Linked DNA regions of Homo sapiens: regions 1, 2, 3, 4, 6 and 7 are each linked to region 5. The links are contacts of gene promoters, found by promoter capture Hi-C in blood cells and fetal thymus (Javierre and others, 2016). All regions are on one chromosome and are shown on one strand. Each heading gives the region's core, a stretch centred on a gene start or on the middle of the fragment in contact. The rest is flanking DNA. Distances are from core to core; before and after follow the strand shown.

Evidence for each region. Contacts are between HindIII fragments. The CHiCAGO score rates a contact against its expected background, and 5 or more counts as called.
Region 1: a contact is called between the fragment with the promoter of MAGED2 here and the fragment with the promoter of KLF8 in region 5, in 1 of 17 cell types (total B cells). The highest score is 5.1, in total B cells.
Region 2: a contact is called between a fragment that was not itself captured here and the fragment with the promoter of KLF8 in region 5, in 1 of 17 cell types (M0 macrophages). The highest score is 6.1, in M0 macrophages.
Region 3: a contact is called between a fragment that was not itself captured here and the fragment with the promoter of KLF8 in region 5, in 1 of 17 cell types (naive CD8 T cells). The highest score is 8.6, in naive CD8 T cells.
Region 4: the fragment with the promoter of VCF2 here is called in contact with the fragment with the promoter of KLF8 in region 5 in 9 of 17 cell types (M2 macrophages, M0 macrophages, M1 macrophages and 6 more); the score reaches 9.5 in M2 macrophages.
Region 6: a contact is called between a fragment that was not itself captured here and the fragment with the promoter of KLF8 in region 5, in 2 of 17 cell types (naive CD4 T cells and naive CD8 T cells). The highest score is 5.7, in naive CD4 T cells.
Region 7: a fragment that was not itself captured here is called in contact with the fragment with the promoter of KLF8 in region 5 in 1 of 17 cell types (M0 macrophages); the score reaches 5.3 in M0 macrophages.

What each region holds. Positions count from the first base shown.
Region 1 is chrX:54,805,799-54,808,994 of GRCh38, reverse strand. MAGED2 (MAGE family member D2) reads right to left here and starts at 1,250. Exons shown (of 13, transcript NM_177433.3): 1 at 1,193-1,250. The HindIII fragment of the contact is 6,434 bases long and covers 1-3,196 here.
Region 2 is chrX:55,138,182-55,141,197 of GRCh38, reverse strand. It overlaps the pseudogene LOC100421179. Among named protein-coding and RNA genes, the nearest start is that of VCF2, 21 kb to the left of the region's middle. The HindIII fragment of the contact is 6,628 bases long and covers 1-3,016 here.
Region 3 is chrX:55,119,760-55,123,044 of GRCh38, reverse strand. No RefSeq gene overlaps it. Among named protein-coding and RNA genes, the nearest start is that of PAGE2, 32 kb to the right of the region's middle. The HindIII fragment of the contact is 3,739 bases long and covers 1-3,285 here.
Region 4 is chrX:55,159,650-55,162,796 of GRCh38, reverse strand. It overlaps VCF2 (VCP nuclear cofactor family member 2), which reads left to right and starts at 1,612. Exons shown (of 3, transcript NM_001166701.4): 1 at 1,612-1,660. The coding sequence starts at 1,641. RefSeq lists enhancers at 823-1,323, 1,324-1,824, 1,650-1,949. The HindIII fragment of the contact is 5,872 bases long and covers 1-3,147 here.
Region 5 is chrX:56,230,788-56,233,620 of GRCh38, reverse strand. It overlaps KLF8 (KLF transcription factor 8), which reads right to left and starts at 1,265. Exons shown (of 6, transcript NM_007250.5): 1 at 280-1,265. The coding sequence starts at 286. The HindIII fragment of the contact is 3,283 bases long and covers 1-2,833 here.
Region 6 is chrX:54,888,485-54,891,720 of GRCh38, reverse strand. No RefSeq gene overlaps it. Among named protein-coding and RNA genes, the nearest start is that of TRO, 31 kb to the left of the region's middle. The HindIII fragment of the contact is 2,103 bases long and covers 236-2,338 here.
Region 7 is chrX:57,588,985-57,591,821 of GRCh38, reverse strand. No RefSeq gene overlaps it. Among named protein-coding and RNA genes, the nearest start is that of ZXDB, 1.6 kb to the left of the region's middle. The HindIII fragment of the contact is 979 bases long and covers 962-1,940 here.

The DNA of each region.
Region 1 (3,196 bases), core at 1-2,500, 1.4 Mb after region 5:
GCCCCGCCCGCTTTCCCAGCACGAGCCCTTTCTTTGATGTCCACCGTGCACATGCGCATTCAGCAGCTGGCTCTTCTCAGTGCTGGCCCTTCTCAACACGCCCCTTTCTAGCGAAACATAGTGCGCATGCGCAATGGTCGTGGTCTCAGTCTGGCACTCTGCCCCAACACACGCCCCTCTCCAGGTCCGCAGTACCATTCGGTCCCGCCCCCTGCCCAACAAGCCTTCCTCCAAAATTGTCGCAGTGTCTGGTGGACCCGGCCCCTCCCCTACTCACGCCCTACAGAGTCCAGTGTCTCTTGGCCCCGCCCTTCTTCCTAACACGCCCCCCTCCAAACAGGCGCATCTTGGTTCCGCCCCTTCCCTATTACACCCCCTCCTCAAATAAATACTGAGCTAGTGATTCCATCTTGGGCCCGGCCAAACCGGGTCCAGTCCCCTCCCTTCCCAGCCGGATGGATCCGGTACGATCCGGTCCTTAAGGCAGGTTTTCTCCAGATCCCAGAGGGTGGGGCCGACCCCTAGCGGGGCTCTCATCCAAAAGCCGACCCGGCTGCTCACCTCGTCCTCCTACAATTCCCGAGTGCGTCCACTCACTCCAAGCCCCTCCGAAACTCGGAGACTGCCCTCCCCTCTCTAGGCCGGAAGTGGTCCCGCCCCTTTCCGCCTCCCTAGGGGGCCTCCGTCCCAGCCTGTCTGCCCCTCCCCCGCTCCCTGCTCCTCATTCCTTATGCCCCCCTCCGTATTCCCTTAGCCTGGCTCCCTACTCCCTATTCCTACCTCACATTTCCTATTTACTCCAGAATTCCTTCTTCCCATTTCTTACATCCTCCTCCGTGTTACGTTTGCACACCCTGCCCCTCAGTATTCCTTAATCCCTCTCTGCATCCCCGATTCTCTTCTCTGGATCTTCACTCCCCCTCAGTGTTCCCCTCCCTCCTTGTATTCCTCGTCCCCCTCCCAACATTCCTGGTTCCCCGTTTTTCTCCCCTCCTCCCTCCGCTAGTCTCTGCTCCCAGTCTGTACAGCCTACTACTTTCTCAGTCGTCCTCATTGCCTACACCCCACTCCAGGTCACCTCTGCTTCAGCTGCAGTGGTGCAGTAAGAATTGCTCATCTGCCTGGCTATGGGTTCGAGGGGTCTGGAACCACTGTCTGACCTCCATAAAACCCCAATATCAACGCCCCTCACCTTGTCCTCCAGCGAGTTCGGGATGCGTCTGCCTTCTCTAAGTCCCTCTCGAAGTCTCAGCCTCCTGGACTAGAGCTGCAGACAGCCCAACCCAGCCCAGCCCCTTTCCGCAGCCCCCTGCCACCCCCCCTCGCCTTCCTCGGGGGTGGGGCAATGGGGCCCCGCTCAGGGCTGTCTGACGCCAAAGCCCATGTTTATGCCACTGTACCAGGCTCAGTCTGAAGCTCTTCCAACTCAAACCGCCCCCTGAAAGCAAGTCATTCATTGAATTTATTTTTATATCTTCATTTTTTCTTATTACAAAGGTAATATGTTGTTCTTTTGTTGTTGTTGTAAAAATTCAAACAATGCAGTAATATATAACACACCAATGAAAGGCCACTCATCTCCCAGAAATAACCACTATTAACATTTTGCTATCCAGATTTTTTTTCTATTCGTATACTAATTATTCAGGTTCTCTCTCCGACAAATGGTACACTATACATACCTTCTGTTCTGCGACCTGTTTTTTTCCAGTTATATATAAAACATCTTTCCGTTAGTGCACATTTTTCTAAACAGCTGCATGATCTTTTCTTGCATAGATGTCCCATAATTTATTGAACCAGTCCAGTACACATGTACATTTAGATTGCTTGGTGCACTTTTTGTTATTTATGGTATTTTTTGCTAGCTCAAATGCTACAAAAAAGTCTTCCATTTTGATGCAAAATTTGTCAACTTACTCCTAAAAAGTAAATGGATAACATTCCCGCCAGCAATGTCTCTCCTGTACATGTCACATATTACAAATATTTTTCATGTTATTTATGATAATTTTTGCCAAACAAAAATGTTTAATTATTATGTAGTCAAATATATCCATTTTTCCTTCATCACAACTGGATTCTGCTGCTTGCTTAAAGATGCTTTTCACACTCCTATAACAAACCCCGTTTTTTTTTTCAAGCACTTTTGTGGCTTTATTATTTACATTTAGATGTTTGATCATTTCAAAATTTATTTTCTATACGGATTCAGCTTGATTACTCTTCAAAATCATAGTCTCTTACCTCTACATCATGTGCAAACTAATCCATCTTTTCCCTCTCTGCTTTGAAATGGCACCTCTATCACATAATAAATTCACATAACCAATTGGATCTGTTCAAGAGAACAAAATAAGATGTAAAATAATAGGAAATAGACAAATCATCATTAATTACTGAATATATAAATGCAGACCTGGAAAACCCAAGAGCATCAACTAAAAAGTTATTAGAAACCATAATAAAATTCAGCACAACTGTTAGTTGCAGAAATAATATTCAGTGCCTTTCCACATATAAATGTAATTCAAATGGACACAAGTCTTCTGCTTTATGTGGTCACCTTTTACTATGTAAATAACATATAATGAATCCCTGTGTTCCATGGATAATTCAAGATAGACAAACACACAAATTTCTTGCATATTCAAGGCAGGCTTCTGTTTTCCTGTCTTTTCTCTTTCTCTGAATTATTGCTTTCTCCAAGTGTGTGATATCAGTTCACCATGTTCTTGCCTCCTAGATTTTCTCCCTTATCCACACTAGACATAGCCCCTCCTTTTCTTCTACTTCTGGCATCTCAAATTCCCCACCCCTTCCAAATCATGGCAAGTTGGCAAGTTTAGAATGCCAAGATGAGGACTTTGGTGTTGATCCTGAGAGCACCCAGGAGTTACTAAAGAATTCTAGGCAAGGATACAGCATAGGTTTGTGTTTTAGAAAGAACACCTAGCTGCTATATGGAGTGTGGATTAGGTGTTGTCTTGGAAACAGGGAGAGTGCTTATGACTTTTGTAGTCATCTAGGTAAGCAATGATTGTGCTTTGGCCTAGAGTGGTGGCAGATAGTGAGAAGTGATTGAATCGAGGAGATAGTAAAGAAGTAAAAAGTAACTGGACTTGAGTAACTGGATTGTGAAGAGAAGGGCAAGGAGGAGGGGAGTGTCAAAGGGAACTCTTGGCGATCTGATTTG
Region 2 (3,016 bases), core at 115-2,614, 1.1 Mb after region 5:
TTTATAAAGGAAAGAGGTTTAATTGACTCACAGTTCTGCATGGCTGGGGAGGCCTCAGGAAACTTACAATCATGGAAGAAGGGGAATGGCAGAAAGGGAATGGCAGAAGGGGAAGCAGACACCTTCTCCACAAAGCAGCAGGAGGGAATGTGATTGTGTGAAGGAGGAAATGTCAAACACTCATAAAACCATCAGATCTCATAATTCATTCACTATCATGAGAACAGCAGGAGGGAATATGAGTGTGTGAAGGAGGAAATGTCAAACACTCATAAAACCATCAGATCTCATAATTCATTCACTATCATGAGAACAGCATGAGGGAAACTGCCCCCATGATCCAATCACCTCCCACCGGGTCCCTCTCTCAACACATGGGGATTATTGGGATTACAGTTAAAGGTGAGATTTGGGTGGGGATAAAACCAAACCATATCTTTCCGCCCTGGCCCCTCCCAAATCTCATGTCCTCACATTTCTTTTTTTTTTTTTCTTTTTCTTTTTCTTTTTTTTTTTTTCTTGTTATGAGACAGTCTCACTCTGTCACCCGGCCTGGAGTGCAGTGGCACAATCTCGGCTCACTGCAACCTCCACCTCCCGGGTTAAAGCAAGTCTCCTGCCTCAGTCTCCTCAGTAGCTGAGACTACAGGCACCCAACACCACACCTGGCTCATTTTTGTATTTTTAGTAGAGACAGGGTTTTACCATGTTGGCCAGACTGGTCTCAAACTCCTAACCTCAAGTGATCTGCCTGCCTTGGCTGGGATTACAGGCGTGAGTCACCACTCCTGTCCTCACATTTCAAAACACAATCTTTTGTTCCCAGCAGTCCCCCAAAGTCCTAACTCATTTCAGCATTAACCCAAAAGTCCAAAGTTTCATCTGAGACAAGGCAAGTCCCTTCCACCTAGGAGCCTGTAAAATTAAAAGCAAGTTAGTTATTTCCAAGATACAATGGGAGCACAGGCATTGAATAAATACTTCCATTCTGAGTGGGAGAAATTGGCCAAAACAAAGGGGCTACAGGCCCCATGCAAGTCTAAAATCCAGTGAGGCAGTCATTAAATCTTAAAGTTCCAAAATAATCTCCCTTGACTCCATGTCTCACATCCAGGGCACACCGATGCAAAGGATGGGCTCCCATGGCCTTGGGCAGCTCTGCCCCTGTGGCTTTGCAGGATACAGCCCCCTGCCCTGGCTGCTTTCACAGCTGGCATTGAGTGTCTGTGGCTTTTCCAGGTGTACTATGCAAGCTGTCAGTACATCTACCATTGTGGGGTCTGGAAGATGGTGACTCTCTTCTCATAGCTCCACTAGTCAGTGCCCCAGTGGGGACTCTGTGTGGGGGCTCCAGCCCCTCATTTAGCCTTCGCACTGCCCCAGCAGAGGTCCTCCATGAGGGCTTCACCCCTGCAGCAAACTTCTCCCTGGACATCCAGGCATTTCCATACATCCTCTGAAATCTAGGTGGAGGTTCCCAAACCACAATTCTGGACTTCCATGCACCTGCAGGCCCAACACCATGTGGAAGCCACCAAGGCTTGGGGCTTGCACCCTCTGAAGCAACAGCCTGAGATGTACCTTGGCCCCTTGTAGCCACAACTGGAGCTGGAGTAGCTAGGACACAGGGCACCAAGTTCTGAGGCTGCACAGAGCAGGGGGACCCTGGGACTGGCCCATGAAGCCATTTTTCCCTGCTAGGCCTTCAGGCCTGTGATGGGAGGTGCTGCTGCCAAGATGTCTGAAATGCCCTGGAGACATTTTCCCCGTTGTCTTGGCAATTAACATTTGGTTCCTCATTACTTATGCAAACTTCTGCAGCTGGCTTGAATTTCTCCCCAGAAAATGGTTTTTAATTTTCTATCACATCGTCAGGCTGCAAATTTTCCAAACATTTAGGCTCTGCTTCCCTTTTAAACATAAGTTCCAATTTCATATCAACTCTCTCAAGTTCAAAGTTCCACAGATCTCTAGGGCAGGAGCAACATGCCACCAGCCTCTTTGCTAAAGCATAGCAAGATTGACCTTTGCTCCAGTTCCCATTGAGTTCCTCATCTCCATCTGAGACTACTTCAGCCTGGACTTCATTGTCCAAATCATTATGAGAATTTTGGTCAAAAGCATTCAACAAGTCTCTAGGAAGTTCCAAACTTTCCCACATCTTTCTGTCTTCTCTCTGAGCCCTCCAAACTGTTCCAGCCTCTGCCTGTTATGCAGTTCCAAAGTTGCTTCCACATTTTCAGGTATCTTGATAACAGGGCCCCACTCTCCGCAGTACCAATTCCTCTTTTAGTCCATTCTCACACTGCTATAAAGAAGTACCTGAGACTGGGTAATTTATAAAGGAAAGAGGTTTAATTGACTCACAGTTCCACATGGCTGAGTAGGCCTCATGGAACTTACAGTCGTGACAGAAGAGGAAGCAGGCATCTTCTTCATAAGGCAACAGGAGAGTGTGAGTGTGTGAAGGAGGAAATGTCAAACACTTATAAAACCATCAGATCTCGTGAGAACCCACTCACTATTATGAGAACATCATGGGGGGACCACTCCCATGATCAAATCACCTCCCACTGGGTCCCTCCCTTAACATGGGGATTATGAGGATTACAATTCAAGATGAGATTTGGGTGGGGACACAGCCAAACCGTTTCAGATGGGAACACTGTTTCCCCAGTGATTGACAGCATCTGACCATGGATAGAACTATGTGTACTTAAATATGGTTGTGGACATCTTGTCATCCTTGCATAATCTCTTCAATGCTTTGCAGCTCTGCCCACCTGCAGTACAAGATGTGCTTGATGAATGCTAGGGAGTGATTCTGGAGCAGCATTTCCTGCACAGTCCCAGTCTCTATAAATCTGTCAATGGCAGAGTTTTTAACCTGCATAGTGAGGACCTTCTTGGGTTGGGAGGAGTCATCAGAGGGAAAGTAAGCCAGAAAGTTATCCAGTTTAACCTTCAACTTAAAATCTAGGGTTGAAGGGAAGCTCTGCTCACAAGGACTAACAGC
Region 3 (3,285 bases), core at 364-2,863, 1.1 Mb after region 5:
GGAAATGAGAAAAGAGAGAGAGAGGAAAAAATAATTAAACAACCTCTAAAAAAATGAAGGTTCTCAGTAACAAAGCTGAGCTCCTGGCCATGAAGGGAAGGGAAGTCAGACATGCCCCGTTAAACCCCTCTCCCTTTTATGGTTAAGACACAGCAGCTTCCCAGCATTAATGTTAAAACAGAGATCATAAGACTGACAGAATGGACTCTTTGTGGCAACAAGATACCAAACTACAAACAAGACCTAAAGCCATGCCAGACAAGAGTAACAAACTCTGTTCTAACTGCTACAAGGTGTTTCTTTTTCTCTAGCAGCCAAAGGAGCACTGGTCTAGAGATAAGCAATATTAAAATAATTGTAGCTTATCACCAGATACTAACTGACCTCCTGTTTCACAAGCCATAATGACAACTTTGATTGGACAAGAGACTGATTTCAGGAACTTTCTCCAGATAAGAAGACCACCAATCATGGACTGGTTCTGGTCAGTTTACAGAGGCTTCCCACTTGAGTGCTTTTGCATCCTGAGAAGACCTTTTGACATATAGGGCCTAATTGTAATATGTTTAAATGTTAACATCTTCACCACAAGGTTAACATGGGTCATATGTTACATACGTTTGTTCAATAAGCATGCATCAGGACCACCTTCATGAATATTTCTAGCTTCTTCTGTAACCTGATGAATATGTATATTTAGCCAATCTGTTCAGAATAAAGCACCTTACCCCAACCCCTCCTTCTTTGAAGTGCACCTCTCTGATCTTTGCCAGAGGCTATGCTTCCCAGCCTGTGAGAAGGCCACCTTGCAGGCTGTAACCCTTTATAAGAAATAGTCTCCTTTTTCCAAATTTATAATCCTGTTTTTTTTTACATTAACAATACTTAATCATAGAATTATCCCCCACTTCCTGACGGTGTTCAATTAGAGAAAAGCCCCACTTTTTGAGTCCTCCTGCAAATCACCTAACATAAGCCCAAGTCCTATAGAAAAGATTCTAAGAAGTACATTCTAGCACCATATTAATGAGATGCCCCAATGTGCTCCGTGGTGTATGTTTTCTCCCTCCGTGAGACTTTGTTCAAGGTGTTCCTCACGTTCTTTGTCTGGAGGGTACCAGCAGAAGATACATGATGGGTTTACATAGCACAAATGATTAAAGTCTCATAACTTACGCCTGTTTGGCACTTTGTTTTAAAATATTTCAGAGTATCATTTTGTTTTATGCCAAGAGATTTTTCTAAAATTAAGTATGGCATCATCATAAAACAGTAGAACTGAAGTGCAGGGAAAGCAGCAACTGTAAAAGCGACTCTTGAATTGCAGGGTTCTAGGAAATGCTATCCTAAGTCATACTCTGCTAAGAATTATGTCATCTTTTGTGTGGAGTTCACGGAAAAGTTAATCAGGTTCTCATCGTCATCCCTGAATCTTACAGCTGACTAGAAGTGTTTGCAGGATAACATAAATATACAAACTCTGGATTGGAATGGGAAGATTGAGGGGAGGTTTCTGTCAGTCTTACTTCCAAATGAAGTTAGTTAATTCAATAAACAGGAACTCAGTGACATTTAGCAGGTTTCATCCAGCCAACTGATGCTGGATCTGCAAAGACCAATTAAACATAGTTCTTGCCCTCAAGGTGTCATAGGAGGCAGAAAGAAATTATTTAGGTAGACATGATAAAGCCAGTCCCTGGCAGAAAACTCCTTTTAACAAAAAGCAGCTCAAAAATAGCTCCCTTTCTAACCTTATGCAATTCAAAGAAATCACTTCTCTTCTAACAACAAGCAACCTGAAAGAGCAGACAGTAAAACACAGATAAGACAGCTCAGACACAGAAGGAGGTGGGGGAAGTCTCCTGGGTAATTATCAAACTTCACACTTATACAATGGGCCCCAGTAAAACAGTGGGCCTTAATAAGGACATTCTTTTCCCTTTAGGCACACTAAGCTAGAGAAGCTAAAAACACACTCCAGGGGATGCCTGCAGCTGCAAGAAGATGTACTGAAACAGACACAGAAACTCTCCCTCCCAGATAAGCAGGACAAAGAAACACAGACTAAGAGTCAGCCTATGTGGTCAGGGAATGGGATAAGAGCTGATAAAAAAAAAAAACAAAACAAAACAAAAACTCTGCTCTGTACAGATAGCACACCTCGTCCTAACTAAACTGTCAGGCCCTAGGAGGATAAGACATCCCCTCTTCACAAGCCCCCTCCTCGCTGCTAGCCCATTTATAAAAACCCTGACATTTTTACTACAACTTGGCAACTGGCTCAGGACCCCTCTCTGTGATGGAGAGCTGTTCTTTCCTTTTGCCTATTAAACTCCTTCTCCAAACTCACCCTGTCTGTGTGTGTGTCTGCGATCTCGATCTCCTTGGCCATGAGACCAAGAACCTTGGTATTTACCCCAGACAACGAGGCTGCTTCAAAGGGTCTCACAGTCTCCTGGGAGAGGAGATCCATTAATTCAATCCAGAGTTACCTGTGATGGCCTATGGTGTGCTGGGCACTGTGCTAGCTGCTGTGCATACAACAGTGATCAAAAGAGGCAGAGGAATCCACCCTGGAGGAGTCTACGTTCTCTGAGGAGTGACTTTAGGGGAGTGACTGACAATTTACAAGCACTGAAAGACATTAATAAGCAATGGCTCTACTAATCCAAACTTGATTCTGTCTCTGTAAGTAGCTTTGAAAAGTCCCATATGCTACAAATTCTGTATCACATGCTATATTTCCATTATTCCCTATTCTTACATGCCCACACCAGAGTCACTGAGCTGAGTAGGGCACACCATGATGCGATTGTGATTACATATCCACCAAAAAACACCCCTGATGGGCCAAGAAAATACAACAGTTCTGTACATGTTACATGAAGAGGCTAGGCTGTGGAGAATTTGTTACCTAGGGGAGCCCTTGTGGTAGCTTCCTCCAGTGGACAGCAAACCCCCACGACTATACTTAAGCTATACTAGCTTGTCTCTCTATTCATTCTCATTTTCTTTGAAAACTCCCAGGAATGTTTTATTCTTCTCTAACTGCATTTAAGCTGTAAACAGGAAACCTACAATAATCATATAATAATAACCACAAAACCCACATAGCTGAAAATTTTTTTAAAACACTAAGTATCTCATGACTCAGAGGATAGATTTTGCTGAAAGATATGAAATACTTTATTTGGGAGGATATCTGTGGAGTAATGCTCCAAGTAGTAGAGTCTACTGCTGCAGACTCTGTGGGGACAACATGTTCCTAATATGTAAGTTCCAGAC
Region 4 (3,147 bases), core at 363-2,862, 1.1 Mb after region 5:
TAAGGCAGACTTCATTCAGGACCATCAAGATAGGTGTAGGGACCACTGCTATGGGGTTTTGCAGTGAAGGGAGAGAAACTGGGTTCCACTCCAAATACAACAACGAAAAGTGGAAATTTATAGCCAAGGAGCAGGGTGGGGAGCAATGGACGGAAAATTACTAAGAGGAAACACCACGGGTAAGGGGGTATTGTGGCTAAATTGAACTAACAGGATTGTTGGTGAAGGTGGGCCAGGGTGACTAGACATCACCTGGGGGATGAGGAACCTAACTGAGATATTGATGATGGGAAATTCTAACTAAACTGACTTAGCAGGATTCTTGTTAAAATTGCACAATGCAGCGACAAACATGGCAGTCTAAAAGTCCCCTGTCCAGGGCTGTCTACTCCACAGCCTCGGCTGCAGGGTCACCTAGCCCCTAGCTGGGTTAGGCTTCCTTTATGGCATGATCTTTAGTTCTTGAATCAGCCACTTTCCACATCTTCCCTTCCATCCTCAGGGAATGCAGCCCCCTGTGAGATCACCTACTTAACAGCAAGAACCAGGATCAGCCTAAACTCTAGCACTCCCTTTGCCAACTTTTTAGATAATAAATACAGATAGAGGAACATGATAATTCAGGAGAAAGCATAACTGCAAAGGATGATCCCTTAAGAAGGTGGAAGGCATAGGATCCAGGTGAAGGGCCTGGTCTCAAGTAGGATCCTGTCTCTTCCTCCAGGGAAGCAGCCAAGATTATAAGTGCAGGTCTACTGCTGTTGGGAAGTGGTGTGAATTCTTCTCTGATTGCTTCTATTTTCTCAAGGGAATATCAGTGAATATCATGAGAAAATTGGGTGCTGGTGCTTGTGGAGGGATCTTGTAAGTAGACTAGACAGAGAAGGTACACTTGTGGAGGGTGTACATTGTTTGTCTACTTGGCGGCGGGGGGACTGCCAGGAGAGTAGGGAGGAGAGAGTTAATAGCTTTGGGTAAGCTGGCTAAGGAAGGTGAATGGTGAGGAACGCGGTTGTGGTTAGTGGAGAGGAGGCCTCCTTGAGGCTAAAGGCTGTGGATGCTGGGGCACTGGAAGAGGTAGCTGTTAGGACACGATCGGGTGCTGCCCGTTATGAGAATGGGGGATGCAAGAAATGGACATCGTGGAGGGGCGCGGTCTTTCCTGAGGCCCAGGGCATGACCGCGGGCAGAAGAGACTTAAGTGGGGGGAAGGAGACCCCCCCGAGGACGGAGAGGCGCCGGCCACGGCCTGGTCAGCCCCGGGGGCGCTGAGGTCGCCGAGGAGGATCAGCGGTGTGAGGGCTGCGAGGACAGGGCGTGTGCCACGTGAGAAGCGTGTTCAGAGGCTGGCTGGGTGGGAGGAGAATGTCCATGGGATTGGCACAGGTCTCGAACATGGGGCGGCTCGGGCAGTCGCGCAGCAGAGCCTGACCCTCAGCGGATCGTCCCTCAGGCGTCAGCTCCCAACTGCAGGGAAGGGAGCCTGCGGCGGACCCAGAGGAAACAGGAGCCGACCTCCCCGGGCTCCGATGCGCAGGCCCAGAGCCCGTCAATCCTTGGCCAGCCCCGCCCTCCGGGCTGCGTTTTTCCGGCGGCGCAGGAACTTCCTGCGCGGTTGCTATGGTTCCGAGGGCAGGACTATGGGAGGCTGCCCTGTACGGTAAGTTCGTCGGGGCCTTTCCGGCCGGTACCAGTCCGAGCTCTGGTCCCCACGGTCATCACGCTTTGCTTTCTCAGCCAAGATCTCGGGGCTCAGGGCGGAAACGCAGCGGATATGTATTTTCTTCCGGGGTTGGTGGCGCTCGGCTCTCATGACCTGCAGGTGACAGTGTTGGCCGGTGGCGCGGCCCTGCTTGCCTCGTGCCCCGCCCTTCGTGCTTGAAAAAAAATCCCGCGAAGCCTTCTCCGAAAGAACATGCTGGTTCTTTGGTTGTCAGTGCCTTACAAGCCCTGGAGGCGGGGGTGAGGTGGGGATGTGGTCCCTCGCGAAAACTCAGTCAGTGGACAATAGCATTCTGTTTTTCAAATTGGCATTTCCTCGGTGAGGCTGCTAGGTACCCTAGCAACTGGTATTTCTGTTTCTCTGATTGGTTTTGTCATCTTTCTCCACGTGTTACTGGGGTTCTATGGACCTTTATCAATGTATTCTTTCATTACAAACGTCTCTGAATCTCATGGTAGAAAACTTGGTTAGACTGTTAAAGCGTAATAAAGGAAACCAATCTTATCCACAGTCCGATCACCCAGCCGTGACCATTAATCATATTCTGTGATAAATTTCCTTAGATGTTTTTCATTCGTAAAGTTGCATTTTAAAAAATGAGATTAACATTGTTTCATGAACATTCCGCTTTTTAAACTCAGCTTCACACTTTGAAAAATCATTTTCATAGTATTACTCTGTTTTAAAAACAATGCAAACGTATTGTAAGCTGTTGAAAGTTTCAGTAAAACTTGAGCGCAAAATACTCAAATACTCAAAATACCATGATCAAAGACAAACATCACCATGCTCCCTAATGAAGGCAGAGCTGTGGCATGTGTTTGTTTCACTCTTTTATCCTGGCACCTGGAGGAGTGCCTAGCACTTAGTGGATGCTCAATAAACATTGTGAAATAAAATAATATTTACACCCGGTCATTTTTTCTTTATATATAATCAATCATTTCATAATGGAGTGTAATATAGGAGCAGTTTTCTACGTGATTTTTTATTTGGCATTTTGTACTCAGTACTCAGTCTCCTAGAGTCTCCTAGTACTCAGTCTCCTAGAGATGAGAATTGATTAAAGAGTAATGAAATTATAAAAATGAGTAAACTCAGCCATTCTTAGGAGTACCAAAAACTCAAAAGTAAGTCTCTAAGCAAATGTCTGGTTAATAATAGAGTGCTGTGAAAACTATGTCAAACGCTGCAATCTGATTACTTATTGACAAGGAACTTGAAACTGAAGATGTAATCTTACCAATCATTGAAAACAATTTTGAGAAAAGAATGTTTCAAGGAAGTAATCAGCCACAATCTCATGGTGACAATCTAGTGGAGTAACTATGTCATAATATTAGCTGGTATAGCAACAGTAAGTGCCTAACCACATTCAGCATACAAGAAATATCTCTTCAGTGTCGCTACACCACTGGCATAAG
Region 5 (2,833 bases), core at 16-2,515:
GGGAGACTAGACTAGACAAATCCATCCATTCTTGCCCCCTTTCACTTCTTCCACCAAGCTCTCTCCTCTCCTTCTTGGCCTTTCTTTGCCCAGCCCTTTAGCAAAGTCATTTTCCCTTGAGTTTCATTTGATTCCACATAGTGTTCTTAACCTTCCGCTCCCGCCCCCACTGCTGAAACCCCAAGTGGGGTGTGTGGGGGGAGCAGGGGGACTGGGAGGGGGATAGAATCTAGACGAAAGAGGTGGGAGTGGGTGGGTATTAGTCCCAGAGTCACTTACCGACCATGTCACTAGCTGAGGACTCCTGAAGTGTCCAGAACTCATGCCGTCCTCCGGGAGGCTCATACTCCTGAGCTGATCGCAAGAGAGCTGTTCCCCTCACACCCGCCCCATTCTGACATAGCGCAGGGCGACGCGTTCTCGTCTTCTCGTTCTTGGGCCCCCACTCCCCTATTTCTCCGGGCTGGAAAATGAGGAGGGGGTCGAAAGGGGAGGGAGTCGATTCAGACCCAGCTGGGCCACTCTCGGAACAAGGGAAACAAAGCTCTCAAGCATCCAACCCAAAAATCAGGGGCCGGCAGAGTAGACTTCCTAAAAAGAATCCTCCCCCCTGCAGCTTTTCCTTGGACAAAAATAAAGTGGGTTCGCTGGGCCGAAGTGGCCAGAGCTTAAGGTCCTCCGTTCCCCTTTTACCTCTACCAATTCAGTTCCGGCCAAGCCCGCTCTCCACCCATCCTCTGAACTCCACACACCCTTTAAAAGGAGAGGGCCGGGGGTGGGGGCTATGAAAACCAACCCAACCCCCAAAGCGCTACTTGAACATAAAGTTGAGGCGGAGAAGAAATCCTTCAAGACAGGAACCCACGAGGAGATACCACAAGAGGATCCCTTCACCGCCGCCGTTGCCGCCGCACACCCCAGCGCCTTCCTAAAAAGAAAGAAGGGAGGAAAAAAATGCCGACGATTGGTAGAATCATAGAGAAGAACACCAGCCCCAGGGCAGGGGCTTCAGCGAAAAATGGCAGCAACTCGTGCGGGTCCTCTGGGGCGGGGTTTCTTGGAGGCACCTAGCTGCCCCACGGGGTACCTCGCGCCCCACGCGAGTCAGAACCTAAAGTGCTCTCTGGGCAACCTGAGTGGGTAGAGTGATTCCGTCTTTCTCTGGCCCTGCTAGGCCCAAAGGAGAGGTGTGACTATCGTGAGGACTCCACCTAGGGTGGAGTTCCTTAAAAAGGACAGGCGGCCGCTAGAGGAGAGTGCAAAGTGGGAGGAGGTGGAGAAGGGTGGGGCTGAGAAGGAGGAGGGAGGAAGGAGGGGGTGGGGCGGGGCCCTGGGCCGACAGAGCTGGCCTCGCCTCCGGCGGCCGCCTCCCTCAGCCTCCAGCAGCGGCAGGTATAATTCCAATCAATTTCACTTCCTTATCTGTCCCAAAATTAAGGCTTGCAAGCACACTGCTTGATTACCTATTTACTCCGGTTATGCTAATTCTCCAGGGGAGGGTGGTGAAACGGGTACTGGGATTGGGGCTGGGGGCTGTCTAAGAGGGAAAGGAGAAAACAAAAAAGCTGACAACTGGAAGCGATATTTATCCTCCTACCTCTCCATGGTAACACGAACAAGGACAGCGAGGTCACAGTGTCTTCTCAGGGAGGAAGCTAAAAGGAACGGAGATTGGAGCTTGGTGCATTTTCTAGCAAGAGATAAGCCAAGGAGGTGAGGGCGAAGGAGTAGGTGGGGAAGAAGAAGGAGTTGAAGATGATCTGTGAATACAGCGTGGCCCAGCAGGGAGACTTAAGAAAGGCTTTCTCAGTCTCCCAGATACCAGACCTCTAAGAATAGAGTTCTCAACCCCCTGAGACCGCCTCTCAGCCAGGCATTGGCGAAGATCCCCGTAAAGCTGAATCCACAGGATAGGAGCCATGTTTCCAGGATTTCTTTACGCTTGCCTGAAAGTCTCTCTCTAGCTCATTTTAATGGGAGGCCAGGAAGTCACAAGCAACCACAGCCCATTTTCAGTGCCTCTTCCCTACCACAATTCTTTTAAAGAGGAGGAAAAAGAAGAGAGACAAGAAACAAAGCAGAGGGAGGAAGAGCAAAGAGACAGGAGAAATAATAATATCTGCCATGTATTCAGCACCTAATATGGGCAAGTCCCTGAGCCAGGTGCTTTTACATTCAACATTTCCCCATTTAGTCCCAATAACAACCCTGGGAACTAGGTACTGTTATATTCTCTGTGCCCTTTATTTAAAAAAATAAGGAAACGGAAGGCCTCAGCCCAGTACTTTCGAACACATAGGTCTACTTACTTAGTTGATATTTCTGCCTGAATGTCTTCTGTGCATCTCATCTACCTTCCTTTCCCCAAAACACTCTGTTCTTCCTCCTGTAGTTCACCAACTACCTGAATGGCACCACCATACATCCAAGGCAGCACCCTGGAACTCATCCTTTAACCTGCTGTGATCTGGCCTTTGTCTGCCTCTCAAGCAGCAGAGATTTTGCTGTTCTCCTGGGCTTTACCTGGATTACAAATCCCTGGGAATTCCAAGCTGTTTCCAATCTCTATGCCTTGGGTTGCTTTACTTTCTCTGACTGAAATAGACTAAGCTCTCTGTCCACCTTTTTTTTTCTTGCATGTCCTTCCAATGAATCTGTCCACTTTCTTGAAAGGACTAACTCAAGGTCATCTCCCCTCCTTACTTAATTTCTTCAGGCAAAACTGACCATTGCTTCCTCTGTGCCCTTCTCTACCTCGGGGCACATATTTGTTGGTATAATTGCCTCCCCCTACTAAACTATAAAGTCCTTGAGCTGAAGCACCAGGCGATCT
Region 6 (3,236 bases), core at 38-2,537, 1.3 Mb after region 5:
TCTCCCTCTATGCCATGCTGTATCATGTCCCTATGTATGTTGTATACTTCTACACATGCCATCTCTTCTAACCAGAACCATCCTTCCCTGAACCTTGTCGATTTAATGGATATTAGGTCTCATTTGTGTGTTATCTCAACCCAAGTAACCATTTCTCTATGAAGCCTTTTCTGTCTCTCCATCTTTCTCAACACAAGTAGAAATAACCTCTTCTTTCTTTGTGTTCCAATAAGCTTAAGTTCCAATAATCCACGTACAGATGTCTACGTGTTACCTAGACCAATTTACTACTGATTTTTTTTCACATACGTCCCTTCTCAAAAACTTAGCTGATCAAACATATGAATCTACGTGTGACTAATCTTAGGGTCTCCAAACTACAAAGCAAAAGGCAGACACAGATTATGAAAGCTCAATGATTGCTCTATGGCATGTTTTATGGATCTATGGAAAAAATGTGTGTATATATTTACATATGTGTGTGTAGATTTACCTATACACACATATATACTCAATTTGTAAATGTTTTAGTCAATTATTTTATGTCATTAATAATTTTTTTACTAGACATGCTCTATTTTGAAATAAGAATTAAAATTGTTAGTATTCCTTTCTTTTTTTTTTTTAACTTTAAGTGCCGGGATACATGTGCAGAACCTGCAGGTTTGTTACATAGGTATACGTGTGCCATGATGGTTTCCTGCACCTATTAACCAGTCATCGAGGTTCCCTCCCCTCGCCTCCCACCCACCAATAGGCCCTGGTGAGTGTTGTTCCCCTTCCTGAGTCCATGTGTTCTCATTGTTCAACTCCCATTTATGAGAGAGAACATAAGGAATTTGGTTTTCTCTTCCTGTGTTGGTTTGCTGAGAATGACGGCTTCCAGCTTCATCCATGTCCCTGCAAAGGACATAATCTCATTTCTTTTTATGGCTGCATAGTATTCCATGGTGTATATGTGGCACATTTTCTTTATACAGTCTATCATTGATGGGCATTTGGGTTGGTTCCAAGCCATTGATTTTTTGAAGGGTTTTTCATGTCTCTCTCTCCTTCAGTTCTGCTCTGATCTTAGTTATTTCTTGTCTTCTGCTAGCTTTGGATTTGTTTGCTCTTGCTCCTCTAGTTCTTTTAGTTGTGATGTTAGGATTTTGATTTGAGATCTTTCGAGCTTTCTGATGTGGGCATTTAGTGCTTTAAATTTCCCTCTTAACACTGCTTTAGCTTCATCCCACAGATTCTGGTATGTTGTCTCTTTGTTCTCAATGGTTTCAAAGAACTTCGTTATTTCTGCATTAATTTCATTATTTACCCAGGAGTCATTCAGAAGCAGGTTGTTCAATTTTCATGTAGTTGTGCGGTTTTGAGTGAATTTCTTAATCTGAGTTCTAATTTGATTGCACTGTGGTCTGAGAGACAGTGTGTTATTATTTCAGTTCTTTTGCAATTGTTGAGGAGTGTTTTTCTTTCAATTATGTGGTTGATTTTAGAATAAGTGCCATGTGGCACTGAAAAGAATGTATATTCTGTTAATTTGGGGTGGAGAATTCTGTAGATATCTATTAGGTCCACTTGATTCAGAGCTGAGTTCATGTCCTGGATATCTTTGTTAATTTTCTGTCTTGTTGATCTGTCTAATATTGACAGTGGGGTGTTAGTCTCCCACTATTATTGTGTGTGAGTCTAAGTCTCTTTGTAGATCTCTAAGAACTTGTTTTATTAATCTTGGTGCTCCTGTATTGGGTGGATATATATTTAGGATAATTAGCTTTTTTTGTTGAATTGACCCCTTTACCATTATGTAATGCCCTTCTCTTTTTTTATCTTTGTTGGTTTCAAGTTTGTTTTATCAGAGACTAGGATTGCAACCCCTGCTTTTTTTTTATTTCCATTTGCTTGGTAAATTTTCCTCCATTCCTTTATTTTGAGCCTATGTGTGTCTTTGCACATCTCCTGAATACAGCACATTGATGGGTCTTGACTCTTTATCCAATTTGCCAATCTGTGTCTTTTAATTGGGGCTTTTAGCTCATGTAAATTTAAGGTTAATATTGTTATGTGTGAGTTTGATCCTGTCATCTTGATGCTATATGGTTATTTTGCACACTAATTGATGCAGTTTCTTCATAGTGTCGTTGGTCTTTATATTTTGGTGTGTTTATTGCTTCTCAGCCTTTTGGCTAAGATCAAGTGTATATTTTGGTGTTTTTTCGCAGTGGCTGGTACTGGTTTTTCCTTTCCATATTTAGTGCTCTTGCAAGGCAGGCCTGGTGGTGATGAAATCCCTCAGTATTTGCTTGTCTGAAAGGGATCCTATTTCTCCTTCACTTATGAAGCTTAGTTTGGCTGGATATGAAATTCTGGGTTGAAAATTCTTTTCTTTAAGAATATTGAATATTGCCCACCCCTCTCTTCTGGCTTGCAGGGTTTCTGCTGAGAGGTCTGCTGTTAGTCTGATCAGCTTCCCTTTGTAAGTGACCTGGACTTTCTCTCTGGCTGCCCTTAATATTTTTTCCTTCATTTCAACCTTGGAGAATTGATTATTATCTGTCTTGGGGTTGGTCTTCTCATGGAGTATCTTAGTGGTGTTCTCTGTATTTCCTGAATTTGAATGTTGGCCTATCTTGCCAGGTTTGGGAAGTTCTCCTGGATAAAATCCTGAAGTATGTTTTCCAACTTGGTTCCATTCTCTCCATCCTTTTCAGGTACTCCAATCAATTGTAGGTTCGGTCTTTTTACATAGTCCCATATTTCTCAGAGGTTTTGTTCATTCCCTTTCATTATTTTTTCTCAAATCTGGTCTCCATGCCTCATTTCAGCAAGATGGGCTTCAAACTCTGATATCCTTTCTTCTGCTTGATCAATTCAGCTATTGATACTTGTGTATGCTTCACGAAGTTCCTGTGCTGCATTTTTCAGCTCCATCAGGTCATTTATGTTTCTCTTTGAACTGTTTATTCTAGTAGCAGTTCCTGTAACTGCTACTTTATCAAGGTTCTTACCTTCTTTGCATTGGGTTAGAACATGCTTCTTTAGCTCAGCGGAGTGTGTTATTACCTACCATCTGAAACCTACTTCTGTCAATTCATCCATTTCATCCTCTATCCAGTTCTGCACCCTTGCTGGAGAGGTGCTGCAATCATTTGGAGGAGAAAAGGCCTTTGGCGTTTTGGGTTTTCAGTGTTTGTTTTGTTGATTCTTTCCCATCTTCATGAGTTTGTCTAGTTTCGATCTTT
Region 7 (2,837 bases), core at 202-2,701, 1.4 Mb before region 5:
AAATACGTTCTACAGTTAATATAAGTAAGTAATTAAGGGGGTCTTCTGAGGTAATGGGGAAATGACGACAGCTTGTTCAGTAATGCTGTGGAACACCTAGGTATCTATCCGCTGGAAGCAATTTTAATCCATGACTCATTGTATATACCCAAATAAACACACCCCAGCCCCTCCCAGTGTTAGATATGTTGCTTCGTACTTTCTGTGTGTTAAAATTTGCTGGCTGGCTGGCTGGCTGGACTGATGGATGAAAGACAATTCCTGAGAGAAAAAACTGTCTCTGTGTCAGCATTAAACCACCATAGCGCTGGCAGTTCTGCTGAAAATGTCCTTCCCCTTCCCACCTCCCCGCGGGACAACTTCCATATTCACAATTATCTTGAGCAAAGTCTTCGGTACAATTTGCCGCATAGTTCAAATTTTGTCTTGCTGATACAGACATTAGAATGAGTGAGAGATGCGGCCAAAACAGGTTAGCACTCTTCAGCCTAGAAATTCAAAGTCTGGAGGATGAAACAATTTACACTGAAATCTGGAAAAAACCCAACCTTCTCCTGGCTTCTCCCTATACAGTGCACAACCTAAACCAACTTTTGCCCTTCCACCATCGGTTGTACTGTGATAAATTTCATGTCTGCTCTCACAGCACAATGAGGGCATTCATTCCTCAGTTTACTCTGCCTTCTCCAGCACGTGGAGGTCTCTGGGCAGGAGTTTCAGTTAAATGTGTTTAGGTTAAATCCTGAGTCACTGCAATGGATTCTGCCAAGTAAAAGGCACAGACGATCTTGTCCAATCAACCTGGTGTACCTGTTCACATTTAAGTGTGGTGGCCCAGGCTTGCTGGGCCTGTGGTGCCTAATGATCTTATTAATGATGATGACAATCCTTCATTTTGTCCGTTACGACTGAGTTGGGAATTGACACAAATATAGGGTGAAATATCTGAGATAAGAAAGCTTAGAGTAATGACTAGATTGGTGGTGGTGGGGGAGCGGGGTGTAACCTGTTGTTTAAATACTCCCAGCTCTCTCGCCCTCTTTTAATGACAGTGGACACTTGGTCTCTTGAAAATCAAGCTATTCATCCATAACTATTTGAACCTCATCAAAATGTCTACTCCACATACTTTTCTTTCTATTACTTTTTCTGGTGGAAGCATTTTTCAAATCTGAGGTATAGAAGAGTGCATAAAACATATTTGTATCGTTTAGATTATTTTACAAAAGCAGACACCTGTGTAACCAGGACCAAGGTCAAGCAATAGACCACTGCCAGCCTTCCAGAATACAGCCGCTGTACTCCTCCCAATCACAACCCACACTCTCCTATATGAATATAGTCATTGCCCTGACTTTGTAATAATCATTTCACTGCTTTCCTTTATAGCTTTATCACTTTTGTACGCATCCGTAAACAATAGAGTTGATACGAAGTTGTATAAATGGAATCATACGGCAAGTTTCCTTTTATAACTTGTTTCTTTCACTCTGTATTATACTTGAGACTCATCCATGTTGTTCATAATAGTTATAAGTAAGTAGATCCTTTGTCTCCATCGACTGTCGTTCCAGCATATGCTTATAGCAAAGTGATTATGGTATGATTATACCACTCCATTCTACAGCAGATGAACATTAGGATTGCTTCTATTTTTCAGCGATTATTATGAACATTCTTGCACATTTCTCATGGGACACATGTGTAAAAATCTCTCTAGGGTATATATCCAAGAATAGAATCACAGGGCCATAGGGTATGGATATCCTGAGCTTTACTAGATGATGCCAAATTGTTCTCTGTAGTGATTGGGCAAGCTGTCAATCCCACCAGCAGCACAGAGAGCCCCTACTGCTCCACATCTTCACCCACACCAAGTATTGCCAGAATTTAAATTTTGCCAGTCTACTGGTGGGCAATACCCAAATTACTAGTAAGCTTTAGCACATTTTCGTGTTTATGAGCCTTTTGGAGTGTCTACTCCGAAGAAGGCCTATTCAAATTTACCTCTTTTAACCCATGTTTCTATTCTATTGTTCATCTAGTACTTACTGACTTAATGAGCCTGTTAAATATTTTAAATACTAGTCCATACCTGTGGCCAAAATATTCCCTTGTTCTGTTTGTATTTCCCATTGCTTTGTGCTGTGTTTTGTGAACAGAAGATCTTAATTATAATATAGTCAAATTCATCATTCTTTTCCTGATGGTTAGTGTGTTTTTGTTTTAAGAAATCTGTTTTAAGAAATCTTTTCTGTTTTAAGAAACCCTGGGCCATGAAAGCGTTTTCTATATTTTCTTCCAAAATACGTATGCTATTGCCCTTCACAGTCAGGTCTTAATCCACCTGCAATTGATGTTTGTATATTGTGTTGAGTGGGGTTCCATTTATTTATTTATTTATTTATTTGTTTGAATATCCAGTTTTCTCAGTGAACCACTTATTGAAAAGTCTGCCTTTTGCCAACTGATTTACAGTGCCATAAATCAAGTATCTACCCATATGTGGGCTAGTTCCTATACTCGCTATTAAGTGCTCGGCCCTATTTGTTTGAAATATCACACTGTCTTAATTACTACAGATCCATAGTCAATTCTGATATTTGGATAAGGCAGTAAATTCTACATCTTTCTTCAAAAGTGTCTTGGCTACTTTTGGCCCATTTCAATTCCATTTAAATTATAAACTCATCATAAAAACTTCAACCAACAGCTAGTTTGGGGTTCTAATTCATATTGTGCTGATATTTTAGATTTGACTTCTCAATATTGAAAGTTTGGTTCATGGCTTTGGTCTGTCTCTCCTTTTAATAAGGTCTCCTTTAATGTGCCCAAGT